Linked DNA regions of Homo sapiens: region 1 is linked to region 2. Evidence: promoter capture Hi-C in 16 types of primary human blood cells and fetal thymus (Javierre and others, 2016). All regions are on one chromosome and are shown on one strand. Each heading gives the region's core, a stretch centred on a gene start or on the middle of the fragment in contact. The rest is flanking DNA. Distances are from core to core; before and after follow the strand shown.

Region 1 (6,018 bases), core at 1,331-3,830, 2.5 Mb after region 2:
TGTAATGCTGCTTGAAGGTTAGTCAAGAAAACTCAATTAAACCAGATGAGGAGAGGAACACCATAAACAAATAATACATTTGAATCCCCTGGTTCATTTTCACTTTTTAAATAATTTATAATAAAAGGAGATGACACAAGATCTTAGTGGGCTACAATTAAGTTATGATTTGTCATGTGCAAGTAAATTTCCGTCTCTGGGCCTTAATTTTCTCATCCACAAATGAGAGAATTAAGCCAAATGGTCTTTATTTTTTCTTTTTAAAAATGATTTTCTTAGATAGAGCACATAATGCATAGATGTATAACGAATTGTGGTACTTTTCAGGATTTTTCCTGAAGAATATGCACTAAAACGAAATCTTAATTCCTGAAGGAAATGTTAGAAATTTAACCAGACACATGTTCAGCTATCATTGAGTGATTATCCAGAGGATCCCGGTGGTGTTTGTGGAAGGAAGGAGAGTGAGATGGATAAAACTTTGAATAACAGAGCTCTAGGCTACAGGGCCTACATTTTAGGAGGTGGTTTTAGTGCTTCAGCTCTAATTCTGTGCGGAGTGAGGTCTTTAAACATGTCCTGGTAGATTGGAGTGGATGGGAGTGTATTACCAGAGAGCTTTATTTGCTGATGTGTGTTTATAGAAATACAAAAGCGATAATGGCTAACAGTCTCTCTTCTGAGAGGTAGGGAGTAAATACATTCACTGTAATCAAAATTCAGGTGTACTTTTACCACAGCGCCACCTCTGGGTAATCTTTATTTCTGCATTCTTTGCGTTTAGCAGTCCTTTCTCATCCTGATTTGTGGTCTGAAAATGCCTGGTTGAGTGGGTAGCAACGTCAATCTTTTATTTCCACTGATGCGAAACACAAAAACCTTGTAAACACACACAAATTCAGTATGGGTAAAGAAATTCTGTATTCGGATATTCTTCAAACAAATATTAAAAACAGTGCATAAAGTAATATTCCTGGTATGAAGTAAAATTGCCTAACTCGAAATAATGTTATATTGTGCCCCACAGTTGACGAAACCTCTGCTGATATCACACATTCATCATTCATCCTACTCATCTGCAATGAGATATAAGATTAGGGGGCTTTGGAAAAGAAAGATAAATGTAAATCGTTTCTTTCTTGAATCCTAATTAAATGTGGGAACCATACTGCTCCTAGATCAAGCCGTCATTTTCTCCACTTGCCCCAAAATTATTTGTTCATAGCTTCCTTTCTCGTTTATGTCCTTCAATCATAATCATTCTTTTCTCCAAGTGACAGTTCGCTAAGAATCTCCCATGGACAGCCAGAGGTTCTACACAGACCTATGCAGCCTTTAATGTCTGGAGAAAGTCTAGGCTATTTGATGCTGATATGACCTCCAAGACAACATGCCCCAGCTCTTTCTCAGGAAAAAATATTCTGTCCTTTTAAAGTCAATGCAAAACCGTTTTTGAAGAAAGTCTTTTTAGGAAGGAAAATTTTTAAAAATCTGCTCAACTTTATTGCTGCCATCACAGAGATCCCTTGATATTCAGTTTCCTCCAACGTGAATACAAAAAGCTTGAGTCTAGGACAACAATTCCAGAGTGTAAAAGGTGTGGAGAGAAAAGGGAACAGTAGTTACCAACAGAAAAAACCCAAGGAAGAGGAAGGGCAGGTTAGGTCCTGGGCCAGTTTTCTGTGGTGGCGTTGTCGTCTGAGCAGCAGGGTGTATGGCACAGTAAGTATAGTCGGACCTGCTGCTTCATTTAAGAATAGGAGTTTACAGGCCCAGTGGCCCACGCCTATAATCCCTGCACTTTGGGAGGCCGAGGCAGGTGAATCCCTTGAGTTCAAGACCATCCTGGGCACCATGGCAAAACTCCATCTCTACTAAAAATACAAAACTTTAGCTGGGTGTGGTGACATGTGCCTGTAGTCCCAGCTGCTGGGGATGCTGAGGTGGGAGGATCACCTGAGCCCTGGAAGTTGAGGCTGCAGTGAGCCATGATTGTGCCACAGCACTCTAACCTGGGAAATGGGAGTGAGGCCCTGTCGCAAAATAATAATAATAATAAGAGTTTACCTAGAACTCAACATCTCGAAAAGCCTATATTTCACGGAACCATATCTTGGCTTTAAAATATTGATAATATTTAATAATACTTTGAATTTACTGACTGCCTTTTTAGTCTTTCTCAAAATTCTTTATAAATATCTCACTAAATGTTTCATGTGATAAATGTTTCTAATAATTGCCTTATTAGAATATTATTGTTTGTTTTTTGTTAAAGCAATCCAGATGACTACGTTGGGTAAGTATCCCACCAAATTATGTTAATCAATATTTAGGAAGTTCTACCCTAACTACTCTTTTTAAGGTAATAAACAAGCATAGTGAAGAAGTTGATTTTATGGCAAGAAAATAACAGATCACTGAGGAAAAGGAAACAGCATTGACATTGTTGTGACTGGAAATATAATTTAAGATGTAGATTTTGATTTTAATTATTCTATTTGATTAAGGTATTTGAAACTCCTAGAGTTGATAGAAAGGTGAAAAAGATAATAGGAAAGAAGAAAACACCTCTGTGACCCAGCATTTTGCCTGATGTAGCAAGGCTACTTTAAAATAGTGTCGTGAAATTACTCATTGTCTTCGTAAAAGTTTATTAGCATAGCAACAGAACAGTACAAATCCCCCAAATTTGCCTCAGAACTATCAGCAAATCTTTTTTTTTTCTTTTTTTTTTGAGACAAGGTCTTGGATGGGTCACAGGCTAAAGGCTCACTGCAGCCTCAAACTTTGAGCTCAAGCCATCCTCCCACCTCCTTAGCCCCCTCACCCCTACCCCAGTAGCTGGGACTGCAGGTGCATACCACCACGCCCAGCTAATTTTTTTTGGTAGAGACAGGGGTCTCACTGGTTGCCCAGGCTAGTCTTGAACTCCTGGCCTCTGGGGATCCTCCCACCTCAGCCTCTCAAAGTGCTGGGATGACAGATGTGAGCCATTGTGCTCAGCCCAGCAAATCTTGATATGTGAATCTGTTTCATGGCAATGATACCATAGAAAAAATTGTTTGGCTTACTCATACTACCTATTTCTAAGCCTGAATTCTGTCAACAATATTCAATCACAGTGATATTCTGCATCTATCATTGCAAATAAATTATCAGACTATATGTGTGAGTGTATTATATGTTCATTAAGGTCTTTTAAATGGTCTAGTGGGTCAATAGCTACTGCTTATTAAAGTCAAGTCTTTGCATGGATAGATTTAATTTCATAATAGTTACAAAAGAGGGTATATAGATGACTGGGCCACTTGTATATATGTGAGGTGGTTATTACTAAGAATATATGTTGAAGTTATAAATCCAGCAGAAAATAGCAATTCTGTTTAAAATTAATTACTGTTTCTCTCCAAGACGATGGAAATGAGCACTTACTGATAGAGAAACTAAGGCATTAAGATGTAATTCGTTCTCCCTTATGTTCCCACTAACTCTTCTTGGTAAAAGAAAGGCTACTAATTCAGAAATTTTAAGGGCCCAAAACCATAATTTCTTTTGTTAGTGTCAGTTTTAATTCTAGTGTTGATATAATTAAGCTTTTTCTCTGTGTGGATTTGTAATAAGATGTATTTTAAAGTATAACATTGGTTTCTATTTGTTCACTAAAAAAGTTGATGAAAATATGATAATATTTATTCATCCAATTGTAATGAATGACTCTGTTGGAATTATGGAAGTACAATCCATAGCTGTCCTTGGACTTGGAAAGCACGCATTTCTTCTCTATACAGCACCATAAATTTTTTAGAATAAAAAGAACAACCAGATATGGATTTTTTTAAATAATAAAATTGAATAACTCAATTGACTAAAATGTGTTCCCACCACACAGAGGTACACATTATAACATCATCATTTATATTTCTCAACATAAATCAAATTTCATAATAAAATTGTTTTTGATGAATCACCACTTCTTTTCTAGCTTCAAAACATTCTGACAGAGAAAGCAAATTTGTCAATTTCTCTGTGTGATAAGAAATCACTGAAAATATATTTAAGACCTTTAGTCTAAGATAATAATTTTTTTGAAAGTTTCATTTAAAAGGAAAACATTCAAGGGAAGCCATTTTCAAATTTGGAGAAATAACTGAAGAATAAAATAGACTTTCTTTTCAGCATTTTTTTTCAATGCCATCTGCTATACTCTCTGACAATAAGGCCAGGAGAAGTCATTACAGAACAATACTCTGGAAACAATTTGCCTCAAAAAAGAATGAAAACTTAAACAACACTACCTTCATACATGTTTGCTCTAATTACAGCATTAAAACACCCAAGCATTGTCCCCAGATGCCTCTCTCTGTCCTCTTTTTATTGCTTTTCTCCACTGAGATAACATTTAACACTGCATTGAAATTCCTACTTACTGCTTGTGTCCAGTAGTAAATCCTAGCACATTATTAGAATATCTGCCTGTTATCAGCTCCGTCAGGGAATGAATTATTGACTATAACTCATTGCTGGGAAGACTACGCATGACACTCCAGTGAAGTTTTGATAATTTCTAGAAGTCATGGTAATTTATGGAAGGGGGTTTTGATTGATCTCCCACCACCTATTTTGCACCTATCAGTAAATAGGACACATATTGATGGCCTACTTGAACTCCATTAACAATATGGGGGAATTCACAACTTAAGCATTTCTCTTTTTTCTAGTGTGATTTCTATTAAGACGGTCACTCAGTTTCTATTAATTTTCATCTGTGTGGTTTACTCCTGAGAGGGAGGAATCACAGATCTCAACTATTGAATGCATAACATCACTATTCTACTAATGATTTAGATATAGTTTTCATTTGTAGTTATACCAGCGTCTGCCTTTTGGAAAGAAAGCCCTAAGATCATTGGAACAGATAGAGGTGGAGCAGAACAAATACTGAAAGATTTTAAAAGGTCTCTTCAAGTGTTGTAATACAGCTGATAGAATAAAAGAGAATTTTTTTGAATTAATGGATAGTAGGCAAGTTCATTATTATTTGGGAAAAAGTTTATAATATATTTGATATAAAATGTACAGATACCATTTAATGTGTTATGACTATCACTTTAAAGTTCATTTGCCAGAACGTTAAATAACAATCATCACCAATCACAACTCTCTTTCAGTTTTAGGTTTATTTTCCTCCTGTCTCATTTTTGCTGGGTTTCTCCAAATTCAATTATTTCTCAGGGTAAACTCTACTAGACAAATGTTCCTTTTATTTCCTTACTGAGTTTTCATCATTGTGATTTCATTATTGTTTTATTTACTACAACAATTGCTTTCTAGAAAAACAACCAGTATTTTCAACTCTTAATATGTACTATGTAATATCGCAAACAATATAAATAATAATTTAAAATTTAATGGTTATTTCCTAGATGACATTTAAAACATGCCTTGATTTCTAGAAATTTTATCTTATACCCAATAATATTTAATAATCTGATGCAAAAATAATGGTGTCTCTTTTGCCAGAGCAGTCAAGATTGGAGGCGGGTAACTTGACTGAACACTTGGCTTAAAGAAAATAATTCTTTTTTCATTTTATCTTAATTTAGTAGCTTCTAGCAGTCATCTAAACAATCTTAAAATTAAAAGATAATGTTAATGGGAGAGACTGTTGTCATAGGATAATGGTTTCCTGCTGCTAGATTAATGCAGTGGCAATAATACTGGAGCATTTATTGAAAATAAAGGGAAAGACAAAGCCAGAATATTTATTTTTAAAGCAGGTGTCATGGATCCTATGACACTGTTGTGTTATAATTACTATGTTTTAATTTTACCAAATGGCTGATGCAGAATGACCCCTTTCCCTGATGGTTGTGGGATGGCAATGACCCTGGCTGTATCCCCATTAATGGAGAGCAATACTTTGTGTCTGGAGGAGACTGTTGTGTGATTCTTCCAATCAGAAGACAGCTTCTAAAGGTTGTGTAATTTAAAGAAACAAATACCAAAAACGCACAAATA
Region 2 (5,815 bases), core at 3,234-5,733:
CCTATCTTCTCACAAATTTCAAAAGCAACTCTAACCCTGCAAGCTTCAGATTTGCACAAAACATTAGAAACTCTCTTCCAGATACATAAACAGAACTACAAAGACCCAGAGGAAGGAATTCAGATTTCAGAAGCTTGCAACAGACTTGAACAATTTCAAAATGGTACCCCAGGTGCAAACATTTCAAGAGCTAAATGCCATGTGGCCTGGCATTTAAATTTCTCAGAAGCCCCCAAAATAAGGGCTAATTAGCCCTAGAACTCACCTCCATCACTCAGTGATCTCAGCTCTCATATAGGACCAATAGAGCCCCCAAACTACTGAGTTTTACATAGTACTGACTACAGTTTTCAACAAAGTCATCCTCCATTCCTCTCTGATATAATTAGAAGACATAAATTCAAAAATGTCAAAGGCTAGAAGACTGGATCAAAATAAATAGGATAACATTGAGAAGGAACAACAACAACAAAAAAAACTTCTCCAAAAAAATCTGCCCAAGAAATACAGGATGCAGCAGCTCACAGAGCAAATATCTGGGGGTTTTGACTATCCAAAACATGATTATCTAATAAAGAAGTTTGTGCTCGGCACTGCCTAAGAAAATCATAGGCAGTTGTAAGCTTAAGGTGCAGTAAGTAGACATTTATGCTTAGGTCTCAGCAAACAGCTGTCTTACTGTACTCTCTGTTGGCCAGATCACATCTCAATTACATATTCAATTCCAGATTCTCCATGTGAGATGCCGATAAACTGAGAAGACATCGAGAAACCACATCCCAATAAAAGACTGTGAAAAGAATTGGGACTAGTTTGCATTAGCAAAGTCAACTGGGGGTAAGGGGACATCATATTGTCTTGGTGCATTCAAAGAGAGTAGGCAGCTCCAAAAGAAGAAAATCATTGGAAAAAAAAATTCAAGGAGACAGTCTTCAGCTCAAGTAAAAATACAACAAACAGTCCAAAGGTGTAATAACCTGTCTTCAGGAGAAGTTCACGGTTCCTGGGGTTAAACAAAAGTTACCTAGAAAGGGTAAGAATTTACTAAAATAAATAAATTGGATAGGGCCCCTCTAAAATGCCAATTCTGATTTCAATGATTCCCAACTTACTCCACTATCATACTGTGCTCATCTGCTATGATCTCCCTCCAAACTGCCCCTTTCTTTCAATAAGGATTTGCCCAGACCCTAATCACATCAGACCTGAGCACAAGTCTCCTACATCAGCTTCCTAAGCTCAATGTTATTACTCCTCCCATGTCAAGAACCACCTCCCTTCAAGACCTATTCTGAGATCTAAGGGCAGGCACTATCGCCATTTTGGACAGGATCATTCTTTGTTTAGGAGGAAGGGGGTTGATGTCCTGTGCACAGTAGGATGCTTATGTATCATCCCTGTCCTCTAGCCACTAGATGACAGCAGCACCTGCCACCTCGCTATGATAACCATAAATGTCTCCGACATTCCTCAATGTCTGCTGAGAAGCAAAATTGCCTACTTCTGAGAGCCACTGGTCTTGAGGCAAATGATTAACACCACTGACTTGTGGTTAAGTTTTTCACGAACTAGGTTCCCTCTACCCTCCTTTATTAGTCGTATATTCTGTTCCACATCCCTGACCACTGTCAAAAGTCAATTCAGATTTCCACTCCTCCCTCAGCATACTTCATAAACTTTTATCTGGTTCCACACACCCTGGATTCTTAGACAACTGTAACTGTCTGCTTCTGCTGGCATCCTCATGTGTGCCTGTCTTATCTGCTCTCTGTGATTACTACGAGAATCCTCTCCTGCCTTGTTAAGATCCCACAGCACCCACTCCAGTTCTCTGCTTCCTGCTGGCACTCAACAAATATTAACTGGTGTTTCTTAGAATGTCAAACACCAGCTCCAATTAAAAATAACTGAAATCTCTTACAAGCTACCACTTCAACAACATAATAATCATGATTACAAAGTTTTGACAAACTTTTGACTTTAATAGCTATTTTGTCTACAGTACTGAGAACAGAATCGAGTCTAATTTCCAAACTATAGCTACCAAAACAATTTAACTATTTGGACATGACAAACACATCAGAATTTTCTAAAATTAATTTTTAAAAATGCTGCATAATATAAAAATTAAGGGAAAAGGGGCCTAGTTTTTTTCTTTTTTCTTTCCATTAAACTTTAGCGATTTTGAGAAAAAAAGGGCCAAGTTTTGACCATGTTTTTTAAATGCTGGAAAACACAGCAGGGAGAAAATGATATGAATATGGCTCAATACTTTAAGTGTTGCATCATATGCTACTCCACATGGTAATGGAAGGCTGGGTCATCTAAGGACAGTTTCCTCTCCAACCTTCTAATCTGTTAGGTTTTAATCAACACGCACACATACACTCTCAATAAAAACGAGACAAATCTAACATAGTGTTCAAATATATAAATAAACTGTGCCAATTCAAGATTTTGGAATTTTTCCCTGGCTCCATAGATTACCTAATCATTTTATGGGGGGCTCCATAAGTAACCTACAGAGACCAAACACCCCAAATCAACTTTTCGTGACCCCTGTTTTAACCACCTAATTTTCATCTCAGATTCCTCCCCATCTTGCACTTGGATTTTAACAGGGATTTAGTTAGTTGGTGTCAAGACAGATGAAGCAAGAACCCCAACTCTCGCCTAGCTGACAGTAGGTGTTTGGTCACTATTTTTGGACTGCAAAAATAAATGCTGCCTGAGGACCCCATTTACAGGATATGGTGCAGGGTTCTTCCCACAGGTCTGTAAGAAGCAGAGGTCCCAGATGCTATGGCGAGGAAGGTCTGATCACTCTCATTCTTGGCACTGGGAGGGGCCCCTTATTTGTTTATAAGGTAGACAGCCCTCATCATTACTGCAAACGGGGATTCCCTGCCTGTCCAGACTCTTCCAAAGTCCGGTACAAACCACGTAATAGGTGCTCAATAAACGCTGCCTGTACGGAATTTTACTATCAAAGCTGCCAAGGAAAGTTTCCAGAAATCAGCTCTTCCAAAATATGTCCTCAGAGTTTTCTTTGTCCAACAAAAAAATATTTTTGAAGATCCAAGAGCAGGAAATCTGCGAGGCAACGAGGAGCCAAATATAAGCCAAGCGGCTCCAGCTGGGCCCCACATTCCGCTAGGACTCCCCAGTACCTATTCCCCATCTCTCCGCCTACATCCTGAGTGCGCCCTCCCTCTCATCTCGGCTGTTTCCTTCCCACAACCCTACCTCCATACTTTCGGCCACACACACCCCAAGTGCGTGCTCCTGGAACCTCACAGCCCACCTCTCCCTCTCCAGCAAGGACCTACCTCTCTTCCCCTCGACCTGCAGCAGTTCTTCTTCACTGCAGCTGGCTTTTTAAGAAATCAAAAAATCTCATTTATCTGCAAGGGATACCCCCTAGTAAAGGGTGACGGAAAGGAGAAGGCCCCTATCAACCCTCCAGTAACTGGAGGTGCTGGTCCTCCCGGCAACCACCCCCAATTCTCCTCCTTTTCAAGCCCCTGGACAGGATTTGAGCAGAAGTCCCGCTCCCAAGAGCCCACGCCTCCAAACAAGCTAGAAGCGGATTATACCGGTACCCAACCCGGAGACGGCCCGCGGACGGCTGGGTGCACCTGCGGGCCCCCAGCTCCCTCCCACAGGCGCGGGGGGCGGGGCGCGGGCCTTCACCTCCCCGCCCCCGCCCGCCGGGCTCCCAGCGCAGCCCACCCTGCACAGGAAGGAAGCGGAGGGGAGGCGATTCTGGAGAAGTTAAAGGGCTCACCTTTGGACGCCGGGCCAGCAAGGCCAGACACCAAACACCCACCTCCGGGAGGAACCAGCAGAGCCGAAACCGGCTCTCCCCGCCTTTCCGATAGGGCGGAGGGAGGTGAGAGAAGGGAGCGCGCGCGAGGGGTTCAGGAGCCAGGAAGCCGCACTCCCCTCCCGCAGGGCCGGCCGCCCGGGGCCGAAGCGGCCGACGCTCAGACTGCAGAAAGCGGAACAATCTCCCAGGCCCTGGCGGCAGCAAACGGGAGCCCACTCCGCTCGCCGCCACCTCCTCCCGACCCCCGGACGTCCCCGAATGAGTTCCCGGCCGCAACCGCAGCTCGGGCCGCGGCGCCTGCGCCAGGGTTGCGCGCTCCGGCTCGGCGCGGCTCCACCTGCGCGTCGCCTTCCCTCGCAGCCCCCGGCCCCTGCCGGGAGAGGTGCGCACCAACCTTGGGGTGCAGCTCGGCCGCCAAGCCACGGCTTATGCTGAGGCCGGAGGTGGCGGCATCACCCGCGGCGGGCGGCGGCTGCACCGGGACGCGCCGGGGCGGCGAAGGCGCGCTGCACCCTGGACCCTGCTCCCGCGGCCCCGCCCGCGGCTGCCACCTCGAAGCGCGGCGGAGGAGCCGGGGCACCACGGGCGGCGGCAGCGGCAGCGGCAGCAGCGGCGACGGGAGCAGCAGCACATGACTCTGTAACGAGGGGAATTAGACAAAGCGTAACATGGACTCCGGGCCCGTGCAGGCGCTGCAGCTCTGGGACCAACCGCAGCCGGCGAGTGCCGCGACTGGCCCGGCCGCAGCCAATGGGGCGGGCCCGGGCCTCCATGTGATTGCGAGCGCTTTCTCCGGTGGCCCTGCAGCGCCTGACCGGACGGGGTCTGTGTGGCGAGGGAGGGGACCCGGGGTTGGAGACTGGCGGCGAGCGACTGCTAGATGCGGAGCAGGTGCTTGGGAGGGGAAGAACGGCAGCCTACATAACCATCGCCGTAATGCTCTCGCAAGCGTCCACCTGGGCAGGGCTCGGTGCCGGGCAGGCGCAGCTGCCAGTTAGCTGCGAGGCATGGTCAGGAGCCTTCACCCGTCCTGGGCGAAGGAGGCTGTCCCGTCGACTAAAACTCTGATATTAAGACTTGGCGCTGGGGGTGGGGAGTTGAATTACGTTAAAAAGTCACTTAAGTGCCTTCCAACTCTAAGGAGAAGTACTTATCTGAGCTTTGGGGCACACACAACTACTACTTGGCATGGAGAGTTTCTCAGCTTCATGTGTTCCGTCTGTTATTGAAGCTGTATTGGAAAGTCGGTTCTTGTTTTTATCTGAGCCCGCCGTTTTCATCCCATTCTTTTCGTCAAAAATATGTTACATCTGAAAGAGGCAGATGAAAAGATTATTCTATGCTAAGAGGGTTTTGCAGCCCGATAATGTCACCGTTTTTTGTTGTTGTTGTTGTAGGATCGGGGTTCATTTGCAGTCTTTTTTGTGGGTGAGCAGAGGCAGGGGCCAATAAATAAATTAAGGCGGGATATTTGGAGTTATTTGGTTGTAATAAAATATGTGGTTCAACCCAGTGCTTTCATATCTTCTTTTATCTGAATCCATGTGTTTCTGTAAACCATCGGAAGTCTAATCTGTCTTCTACCAATATCTCTCCATGTCAGCAAATGTTCAATCAACGTTTACCCAGCATCTAAATATTCTTAATAAGCATGCTGCACAAATGTTACAGGTACTCAGGAAGGTGTCGGTTCAGAGACAGTGAGACATTAAAGAGAATGATTGTCCAGGGTTTCAGAAAAGGATTCAGAGAGGAGCTGATAGAATTGACCCTTGGATGGTGAGCACTTGGCCCTCAGGCATTGGACGTGAAGAAGAGCAGCCCAAACAGGAACATGAACAGAGAGGTCCAGAATACACTCAAGGGACTGCCCGAGACCCGTTACAAGATGCCACCAGATTCTGAGCCCTCGGCCCTTTTGCTCTCACTTTCCTTCCCCGACCCTCCTTGCCAGCAGCCACTCCTGTTCCACACACTGCCAAGAAG

What was found. The method cuts DNA at HindIII sites, captures the fragments that hold promoters and counts their contacts. A CHiCAGO score of 5 or more calls a contact.
Region 1: a fragment that was not itself captured here is called in contact with the fragment with the promoter of LRRC8D in region 2 in 1 of 17 cell types (neutrophils); the score reaches 6.0 in neutrophils.

The regions. Positions count from the first base shown.
Region 1 is chr1:87,320,885-87,326,902 of GRCh38, reverse strand. No RefSeq gene overlaps it. Among named protein-coding and RNA genes, the nearest start is that of LMO4, 5.0 kb to the left of the region's middle. RefSeq lists a silencer at 791-840. The HindIII fragment of the contact is 2,031 bases long and covers 1,565-3,595 here.
Region 2 is chr1:89,819,700-89,825,514 of GRCh38, reverse strand. It overlaps LRRC8D (leucine rich repeat containing 8 VRAC subunit D), which reads right to left and starts at 4,483. Exons shown (of 3, transcript NM_001134479.2): 1 at 4,224-4,483. It overlaps LRRC8D-DT (LRRC8D divergent transcript), which reads left to right and starts at 3,721. Exons shown (of 1, transcript NR_185885.1): 1 at 3,721-5,341. RefSeq lists silencers at 3,514-3,733, 3,605-3,814, 3,905-4,004, 4,105-4,454, 4,895-4,954. The HindIII fragment of the contact is 10,555 bases long and covers 626-5,815 here.